3 separate regions of the Homo sapiens genome follow, and all the other regions are linked to region 3. Evidence: promoter capture Hi-C in 16 types of primary human blood cells and fetal thymus (Javierre and others, 2016). All regions are on one chromosome and are shown on one strand. The core of a region is centred on a gene start or on the middle of the fragment in contact, and the rest is flanking DNA. Distances in the headings are between cores, read along the strand shown. Region 1 overlaps CFAP299 (cilia and flagella associated protein 299). Region 2 overlaps CFAP299 (cilia and flagella associated protein 299). Region 3 holds the start of BMP3 (bone morphogenetic protein 3).

Region 1 (2,970 bases), core at 311-2,810, 430 kb before region 3:
TAGACTTAGTTCTGTGCTACAGGCTAATGTACAAAACAGTGTACTAGTATGGAACACAGTGTGCTATAGATTCCTATTACCTGAATACTACTTTTAGAAATGTACCTACAATTGTATTGATTTATTACATTGGCTTGTGCCAGTCATGTCACAATATAAACTTCAATGTTATAGCAAACCAAAATGTGAGATATTTAAATATGAATTGTTATTAAGCCATGCCCTTCATTAACTACTACTAGAATTGATTAGTTTGAATATCAAAACAGCAATTAACATGTTTTCTTGAGCATTTAATGGTGTTTTCATGTTATTCAGATTATTTGTTCAAGCCTATCAGGGTATTTTGGAATCCTAAATAATTAATCCAAAATGTTAGCTCTTTCTCCTTTATTCAGGCATTCAACATAGGCAGATATGATAAGAAAGTGACTAATAGCAAATACCAGATACTATAGGATTATATCCTAAAATCTCTGACTGGTATGCTAGAGGCCTTCCTCCTCTAGGTGACATTGCTCCTAACTGCAAATCGTGTTTAAGCAAAGCTATTTAGTTGTACCTAACATACTGTTTCCTCAGATTTTCAAGCAAAGAAATCGTAAGAGAATACACCTTTCTCTGAATCCCCACTTCTTGTTATATCGAGGTAGGGTCCTAATGCTAGAAACTTGACCACATTCTTAGAGTAAATCACTTCCAGTATAGAGTTACTTCACCTCTGTGAAAAGGAATACCCAAAAGATGGTATGCGGCATGCCTAAATGTCATACTTTGGCCTCTAGCCACCTCCAACTATGTGAAAGTAAAAGCTTTATGCAAAATAGATTTTATTTGGCCAAATCCAAGGAGAAAGTCTTTAAGTATGCATTTATTTCAGTTGCAGCATTTACAAAGTGTCTGTTTTATGCAGTGCACTGTTCTATATATCATTAAGACATACAATGAATTATGGATCTCTGTCCTCCCACCTGATATCTAATCTCTACGTCTGTCCTTTACACTGCTGTTGAATCCACAGCTCTATAATCGTCTTCATTTTCTGCATAATTTGTTTATGAAATTACATCCTGTGATAGCACTCTTTCTTAAGACATCTCCATACGTTGTTGCAAGGTGCTTTTCTAACTCGTTATTAGCAGTGATGCTAGTTGGTCTTTACAGTTATGTGCCTAACATTCATATCCTGTGAACTATCCTTAATTCTCTACTGTTTTATATAGGTTTGGCAATGACAGATAAGAATCCTCAGTCTTATAGAGGTAAAGTGATGTAGTTAGTGACCCAGTCGGTCTAGAAAATAGTTTTTAAAAATCTTCTGTCCTATTATTTTTTTTTACTAGTCCACACAGTGTAACTTCAAAATTGCAGAGGTATTGAATTTAAGGACCCATATTAACAATGAGTACAAATTCAAAACTCTCTTAGGTTACCTCATGATTGCATTGTTACAAATTTCACATAAAATGAGGGCCTGCTTCTCCTGATCTTGTAGGATACTACTGTTACACCCACAGGGAATCTTTAAGGTCTGAAACTTGTGCTTAAGTTGTAAGGGATCATTTATTTTTGAAATATTTACAGTAATGCTTTTGTAAAGCATGCGACCAAATCATAATATGGGCCTTTAGCAATGATGCAAAGAAGGTTGTTGATTATCAATGGGAAACTTAGATGTTATATACTTGAAATTGGGATACAAAAACAAACAAAAAGCTGAAATTTATCAGATCTCAAAGGGAAAAATTAGTAATTCATGCATAATAAACAAGGAAAATATTTTTTAAAGTCAGGGTGTCCGAATGCCTCTGAGATCAGTTTAACATATATGTTCTACACTTATAAATAGCAGATTACCAAAATTCAAGCTGACCTTGGCCACTGTATGAGGGTGATATTTTTGAAAGAATGAGTTAGACTGAAACAGTTTCTGCAATATATTAGGCGCAAATATGCTTTCTTTCCATGTTAGGCATGCAGAACTTTTTCCCACCTGTTGACTTTTCCTTAAACAAACATATTATCTGATATAACTAGTCCAAAGAAAATTTTCTCTTCCTCTACGTGAATGAACTCCCCTTTTACCCTTTTGCTAAATCCTGGAGTTCTGATGTAGTTCAGGATGTTATATTACATCCATGTCACTTTTTGGAATCACTTCAATGGTATAGTGCCTTGAATTATTTTCAAACATTTAACCAGCTTCTGTTTAGGTCTGTTTTCTCTTTTGACAGTGTACGTTTATTTTCCAAATACAAATATAATACAGATTGGACTCCCTGTGCTGCTGTGAGCTTTTAAATTAAAAACAAGCTTTGTCTTACAGTCTTTAATAATTGTAAAAAGTGGCAAAATTAAGAATGTTTCATCAGTTTGTACTGTAGCTATCATGACAATTATTGCATACTGTGGTTATTTGCTTTCTTCTCACTATTGAAAAGGTCAGTTTTTTGTTGTTGTTGTTGTTGTTTCATGGGAATAAACAACTCCTGAGGAATGGTTCTGTGTATCCAAAATACAAAGCAAGTTTCTGGGACATGGATTTACACTTATTCTGTGGTAAAGATAGTAGGCTATAAGTTAAATTTTAAATTCATAGTTGAATTCTGATACTTACTAGTTGAACCACTTTGGAAAAAGGCTTTGCCCTTTCTATGCCTTAGTTTCATCAGTTGTAGAAAGAGGGTAACTATTGTATCCACCTGATGGATTATAGAATGATTTAAATGAGATGGAGTAAGTGATGTGCTTCATATGGTGTCTGTATTTATTGAATGCTTAACAAATATTAGTTGTTATTAAGACTCATATATGAGAGTGTTATATAAAGCTGCAACCTTCCCAGATGGTTAGAGAGAAGAATCAATAGGAAAAAACTTTAAAAGTTTTATAGCTTTTAGTTAGCAGATAATGAAATTGAGACTCAAAGAGGTGATAACTTATTATACACATCTTTGTTATCTAAGATTA
Region 2 (3,415 bases), core at 459-2,958, 500 kb before region 3:
AATTAAAAGACTAGTTTTATAATCTAGTCCAGATGAGGATGGCTTGGACCATGAGTGACAGGAGGGTAGAAATAGCAAGAAATGGCCATATTCCAGGCATATTTTGAAAATAGCATGAAATTTCCTAGTGTATTGGATTTTAAATGCTAGTAAAAGAAATAAATCAGGCATGCTTTAAAATTTTTGCCTTTATACTTCTGGCATTTATATATTTATAGATAAATTTCTTTATACATTTTGTGTTAGTGTATAGTGCATAATTTTAAGTGTTTCTTAAAGTGTGAAACAAAGTACTTGTTAACTTTGCCAATTTTCAATATTTTAGCTTGTGGTTCAAAAATGTGTTTTTCAATTTCACTCCAGGGAACTAGGCACCACCTACAGTTGATATAATTTTCAATTTGCAATTATACTTCTAAATTTCCATCTTTTATTATCTTTTAAAGTCTGCAGAGAAAAACCTCAAAGATTATTTCAGACTGCAGCAACTGATAGTCACCTATTCAATATCCATTATGCCCTTTATTGAAAATAGATTTCTGATTTGTTCAAGGTGGCAATGTTCCTAGCTAAAAATACTAATTTTCCCAGCCTCCCTTGCATCTAGGTGTGGCTGTGTGACCCATTTCTGACTGATAAGATAGAAGTTTTTTTTTTTTTTTTTTTTTTTGAGATGGAGTTTCACTCTTGTTGCCCAGGCTGGAGTGCAATGGCACGATCTCGGCTCACTGCAACCTCTGTCCCCTGGATTCAAGCAATTCTCCTGTCTCAGCCTCCCAAGTAGCTGGGATTACAGTCATGCACCACCATGCCCAGCTAATTTTGTATTTTTTTAGTAGAGACGGGGTTTCTCCATTGTCGGTCAGGCTAGTCCCGAACTCCCGACCTCAGGTGATCCGCCTGCCTCAGCCTCCAAAAGTGCTGGGATTACAGGCGTGAGCCACTCCGCCCGGCCTAAGACAGAATTTGTTAATGGGGCTCTAGGAAAGATTTTTTAAGAGTCACGGATGACATGATGCTCCTCCCTATTCCCTTTGCCTCTTCTTGCTACTTAGATTTGAGCCATAGAGAAGCAAAATCCATCTTAAAATCTCAAGTATTTTATGTATTGTAGATTTTGGCTCTTTTGGAAATAGCTTATTACAGCTTAATATTTTTTCTATTTTTTAAATAAGACAAATTAGCATGTAGAAGGATGCAGCATTTTTCTAGGTTCTTTACTAAATGTTGGGAAAAAAACTGTCAGAAGGGAATGTGATATTAAAAAGTGGGAAGTAGTCCATTATAATCTTTTTGACTTTTTAAAAAAATTTCTTTGCACCATTCTAGCATGTATAACTGGAAAGCCACAAGTATCTTGCCTTGTTCACTTTTCTGTAGTGTGAAGTAGAGTTAGGATTGCCTTCTGCTATTTTTTAATCATTATGTGGCCTTGATCCAGTTGACTAATCAAGCTAAGCTTCAGTTTCCTCATTTGCAAAATAAGATTAAGTTATTTTCTCATTAATTAGTGAGGAGTAAATGACATACTATAGGTAAATTATATAAATCCCATTAAATCCTAGGGTCTGTGCCTGGCACATGGTAAGATTCAATTACATGTTAACTACTGTTATTGTGGTTGTTATTATTTCTGTTGATATTTATAAATCTCTGTGTTATTAAAGCAGTGAAATGTTTTTGAAATTAAATTTCAGTTGCAGACATTGTTCATAAAAGCAGGAAGAAAACTCTGCAAAGCTAGCAGTGACGGTAGGTCACTGGGGGTGGCTGCCAAGAAGGTACAAAGGACCTCCCACAAAGGGAAAGCTAGTGGCTAAGAACTTTTTCTGACCTTTTTTTTCTCATTACTTTAATGTCACTAGGCCACACATCTCAATACTAAAAACATCTTGATAATTTATTGTTTTTTTGTGTGTCTATTTCCCATCTAACAATATCCCAACCTTATGTATACTAAGCTTTATTGAATTCCTTCTAAGTATTGTCTACATTTGAAAAGATTTTCCCCTGCTCTACTGTAATCTGAGTTGAGCAATCTCACATGCATGTCTGCAGAGCAGGATTTAAGAACTCGTTAGAAATATTAAATCCAGAGGAAAACACAGGTGCAGGACTTCTGGCTTCAATTTCATTTGCATAATAGTAGCTGGGTAATTGAAGCTGTCAGTAGTTACCTGGCTAAATACAAAAGATAAGAACACTGTATTCAAGCATGTTTCTCTAAAAAGTTGAATGAATGTTGTTAACATTTACTAGTAAACACAGGTGTGGAATTCTAGGATTCCTTTTTATAAGTTCTTTTACTGGAATGTTCCAATCTCTTCTTATTTTTGACTCCTCTAGCTAGAAAAAATTTTTTGCCACTAAATCCCTTTTTCTTTTCAGGGTGGGTACCTTTTGCAATTTTAATTATAGAAGAGCCTTAACTGTTGGCAAAACAAAGCTATTTGGTTTCCTGCCTCAGGGAAAGTTTAAAAAAGGATTGCAGAAAATTGTATGCACTAAATATCTAAGATCCAGTTATTTCTCAAAGACATTTAATGTTTGAAAAAAAATTGCAAAGCCCTATGACAATAATTTAGCAATACATATTAAAAGCCTTTTAATGCAAATCAATTTTACATCACTTAGTGTACATGCTCCAAGGATGCTCATCAGAATTATTCATAACAAAAAATACCTGGGAAACCTTCTGCAGTGAAATATAGAATCCCACATATAGTTACATAGTAAGCTGTCCTTTAAAGTAGTGTTGTAAAAAAAACTGTTTCATGGGTATATGATCTGGATCTCTTATGTAAGAAATAAAGACAACAAATATGATAGGTTCATAATATTATGTACAAATAGTGGGAATATACATAAGCATTAATTGGATCCAGTACCATGTTCAGAGTTATCAGGGAACTACTCTGATTATTAGAATAGAACACCATGATTAATTAATGATATCTACCTCTGTAAAGTAAACTAACATCTACCATGCTACATACTTAAGATTCTTGTAAAAAACTGAAAAAGTGATTATTTCTGGGAGGTGGAACTAAAGGGAATTTTATTTTTCTTATTTTTTGCTTATCTTTATTTCTATCTTTGATAAAATCAATTTCTTATTTTTATAACATTGAAAAAGAGCAACAAAATATTTTTAAAGAATCTTTCCTTAAAAGCGTAAGTTATCTACAAATGTAATGAACAGAACTCACTCTGTGGAAAAAAAAAAAAAAAACAACCAAAATTTTCCTATTATATTTTTAAGGTTTGTAAAGTTTAGATAACTTTTACCACATAGTTCTATACAGAGATATTCCATCTCATCTAGCTTTTGGCAATTTATTCTTAGTTATATGTACTTAGATACAATGCACAATTAATCTTGATAATTGGAAACAAAATTCCCTCTTAACATTTT
Region 3 (3,371 bases), core at 513-3,012:
ATCTCATTTAATCCTCACAACTACTCTTGAAATATGTGTTATTATCTGCAGAACAGTTCCCGGGGTGGCTAAGGGCAAAATCCAAACCGCAGTGGGTTAAGAAGTGACTGAGTGGGGAGAATGTAGTCTGGATTTGGGATAAATTTAGGATAGAAAGGGATTGAGCCCCTATTAAAGGCTAGTGAGTGCGCCAGTCACTTTAGCACTGCTTTCTAATGTCATCCAAACAAAACTCTAAAAGGAATGTGTTGTTATTCACCATCAAAGAAGAAACTCAGATCTGGAGACATGGTGTGACTCCAGGAGCCTATCTTCTTTTCGATCAACTCCATTGCCCTACAGAGGGGAAGAGGGATAAATGCAATAGACATTGACTGAAGATTTTACTGCATATGGTCAAGAACTGCACTAAACATTTACATGGATTGCACACTGAAACTTCAGTTTAAATGCTAATTTCACTATTAATAGTGTGGTTATCTGGCCTGAGGCCAGAAATCAGACTCCCTGAATTTGGATCTCAGTTCTGTCACTTACTATGTATCCTTTTGCCTCAGTTTCCTCATCTGTAAAATGGGTTTTGCTGTGAAAATTATTTGGTAATATACTTGAAATATAAATAACAAGGCATGTCTAGAGCATAAGTGTGGAGAAAAATGTTAGCTCACAGTTGTTTTTTGTTTGTTTGTTTGTTTTTTGTTTTGAGACAAAGTTTGCTCTGTCACCCAGTCTGGAGTGCAGTGGCACAATCTCGGCTCACTGCAACCTCCATCTCCTGGATTCAAGCCATTCTCTTGCCGCAGCCTTCCCAGTAGCTGGGATTACATGTGCGCACCACCACGCCCAGCTAATTTTTGTATTTTTAGTAGAGATGAGGTTTCACCATGTTGGCAAGGCTGGTCTCGAACTCCTGACTTCGTGATCCACCCGCTTTGGCCTTCCAAAGTGCTGGGATTACAGGCCTGAGCCACTGCGCCAGGCTGCTCATAGTTTAATCTCCATTGTACAGCCATGACAAGAGAGAATTAGGAAGACAAAGCTAGCGACTCTTACATTCTGTTCCGGACTCCGGGATCTTCCACACACCCTTGTTTTTAGCCACCACTGCACCATCCTGCTGGGAAACCTTTTGGGGACCTGTAGGAAGGAAACCTTTGGGGGAAGCTGTAGGTGGGGTTGTGGTGTGTTTGCTTGTTTTCTTATTTGTTTTTAACATGATATTGACTCGCACATATTTCTCACCTCGAGAGAAGATGATGCGGGAGAGAGGGGCGTTATGATGGGTATGCTCTCAGAAAGACAGGAAGCTATGATGACGGGCTGCAGGTGCAGGGGCCCGCAGTGTCCGTCAGAAGAGGCTCGGGAAAGTAAGCGAGAATGGTGTTCACGTTGTGACTTTGTTTGGAATCATAAGACCGAAAAGCCAGGAAGAAGTTCTGTTTTCCTCTGCCCTCTTGCTAGCCACCACACAGCCACTGTTCTTGGAGAATTAAAAAAAAAAACAAACAAAAACAAAACAAAACAAAACAAAAAAACCGTCCCTCCTACCATTTCTTTAGTCCTGAATCTCCTTTTCCCTTCCTCTCCCCAGCCATCCCCACCCCTACTTCCTCTTCTCTCCCTCCCGCTGCCAGTTCTCTGGTTACTCCCCCCCTCCCTTGCTTCTATCCCAGCCTGGTGCAAGCTAAGAGGGCGAGGACGAGGGAGTGGGAGAGATTGGCTGAGGACTCTACAGATCAGCTAGAGAGCGAAAGAACTAAGTCTCTCTCTCTCATACACACACACACACGCACACACGCGCGCGCGCGCGCGCACACACACACACACGTACACTAAAAAACTCGGACCAGCCGCGCCGCAGCTGCTCCAATCCCTGGAAAAGGCAATCGAGCGCCCTCCGGACCGCTGCGCACAGCCCCGGCTCCGACCTGGCGCCCAAAACAGAGCTAGTCCTAGTCCCTCGCGCGGCCAGTTTGGCCGGGTGTTCCCAAAAATAAAGCGAGGAGGGAAGGTACAGACAGATCTTGAAAACACCCGGGCCACACACGCCGCGACCTACAGCTCTTTCTCAGCGTTGGAGTGGAGACGGCGCCCGCAGCGCCCTGCGCGGGTGAGGTCCGCGCAGCTGCTGGGGAAGAGCCCACCTGTCAGGCTGCGCTGGGTCAGCGCAGCAAGTGGGGCTGGCCGCTATCTCGCTGCACCCGGCCGCGTCCCGGGCTCCGTGCGCCCTCGCCCCAGCTGGTTTGGAGTTCAACCCTCGGCTCCGCCGCCGGCTCCTTGCGCCTTCGGAGTGTCCCGCAGCGACGCCGGGAGCCGACGCGCCGCGCGGGTACCTAGCCATGGCTGGGGCGAGCAGGCTGCTCTTTCTGTGGCTGGGCTGCTTCTGCGTGAGCCTGGCGCAGGGAGAGAGACCGAAGCCACCTTTCCCGGAGCTCCGCAAAGCTGTGCCAGGTGACCGCACGGCAGGTGGTGGCCCGGACTCCGAGCTGCAGCCGCAAGACAAGGTCTCTGAACACATGCTGCGGCTCTATGACAGGTACAGCACGGTCCAGGCGGCCCGGACACCGGGCTCCCTGGAGGGAGGCTCGCAGCCCTGGCGCCCTCGGCTCCTGCGCGAAGGCAACACGGTTCGCAGCTTTCGGGCGGCAGCAGCAGGTGAGTGCGCGAGGTGAGACTCCCTTCCCGCGGTCCCGCCCCAGCTTTCTCCCGGGACCCCCCACAGCTTCCTTGTCTGCCCCTTGCTTGGTGGCGCTGCCTAGGGACCTTTCTCCGCCCTCCTCAGCTGCCCTCTGGATTCCTCCGTCCAGTCACACCCCGCGTGTCGCCAGCTGCATCTCCTGTAAGCCCAGTTTTCAAATCCAAAGTGAGAGGGGGAAATAGAATGAAGGCGCGGAGCAGTGGAGGGGTAGGCTGGAGGAGCTTCGTGGAAAAAGGGAAGGGGCGACACCCCATGCCTGTGAGGCCTCCTGCCCTGAGTGACTGGAGCACCTCTAGGGTACCTTATTCTGTTGATTCCTAAATCGGCCAGCGGAAATTCCTTTGGACTGGGCTTTAGCCATGTTTACTAAGAGGCAGATGCCATTTTATGCCAATGCCAGGACCCGAGAGAAATCATACTTGAATAAGACGCCTTCCCCTCTCCTTTTCTCCTTCCCCAGTCGCTTCTCCAGATATTGCACCCGCTCCTAATTCGCGCCCTTTGTGTTACTGTACTATATTTGACACTTTACTTGATAGTTCCTTAGTGGCAAAAAAAAAAAAAAAAAAAAAAAAAACAGGTGCTTGGGTGTTTCGATTATTAAAACGCATCTGGGTAAACAGGGGTTGTACCATCCATCCTGGGAGGAGCTGGGAGACAAGGGGAGGGAGCA

Evidence for each region. Contacts are between HindIII fragments. The CHiCAGO score rates a contact against its expected background, and 5 or more counts as called.
Region 1: a fragment that was not itself captured here is called in contact with the fragment with the promoter of BMP3 in region 3 in 2 of 17 cell types (total B cells and naive B cells); the score reaches 5.1 in total B cells.
Region 2: a fragment that was not itself captured here is called in contact with the fragment with the promoter of BMP3 in region 3 in 1 of 17 cell types (naive B cells); the score reaches 5.4 in naive B cells.

The regions. Positions count from the first base shown.
Region 1 is chr4:80,598,238-80,601,207 of GRCh38, forward strand. The region is part of intron 3 of CFAP299 (cilia and flagella associated protein 299); the gene reads left to right. Among named protein-coding and RNA genes, the nearest start is that of CFAP299, 260 kb to the left of the region's middle. The HindIII fragment of the contact is 1,501 bases long and covers 811-2,311 here.
Region 2 is chr4:80,531,101-80,534,515 of GRCh38, forward strand. All of the region lies in intron 2 of CFAP299 (cilia and flagella associated protein 299), which reads left to right. Among named protein-coding and RNA genes, the nearest start is that of CFAP299, 200 kb to the left of the region's middle. The HindIII fragment of the contact is 502 bases long and covers 1,458-1,959 here.
Region 3 is chr4:81,028,946-81,032,316 of GRCh38, forward strand. It overlaps BMP3 (bone morphogenetic protein 3), which reads left to right and starts at 1,763. Exons shown (of 3, transcript NM_001201.5): 1 at 1,763-2,655. The coding sequence starts at 2,340. The HindIII fragment of the contact is 6,285 bases long and covers 1-3,371 here.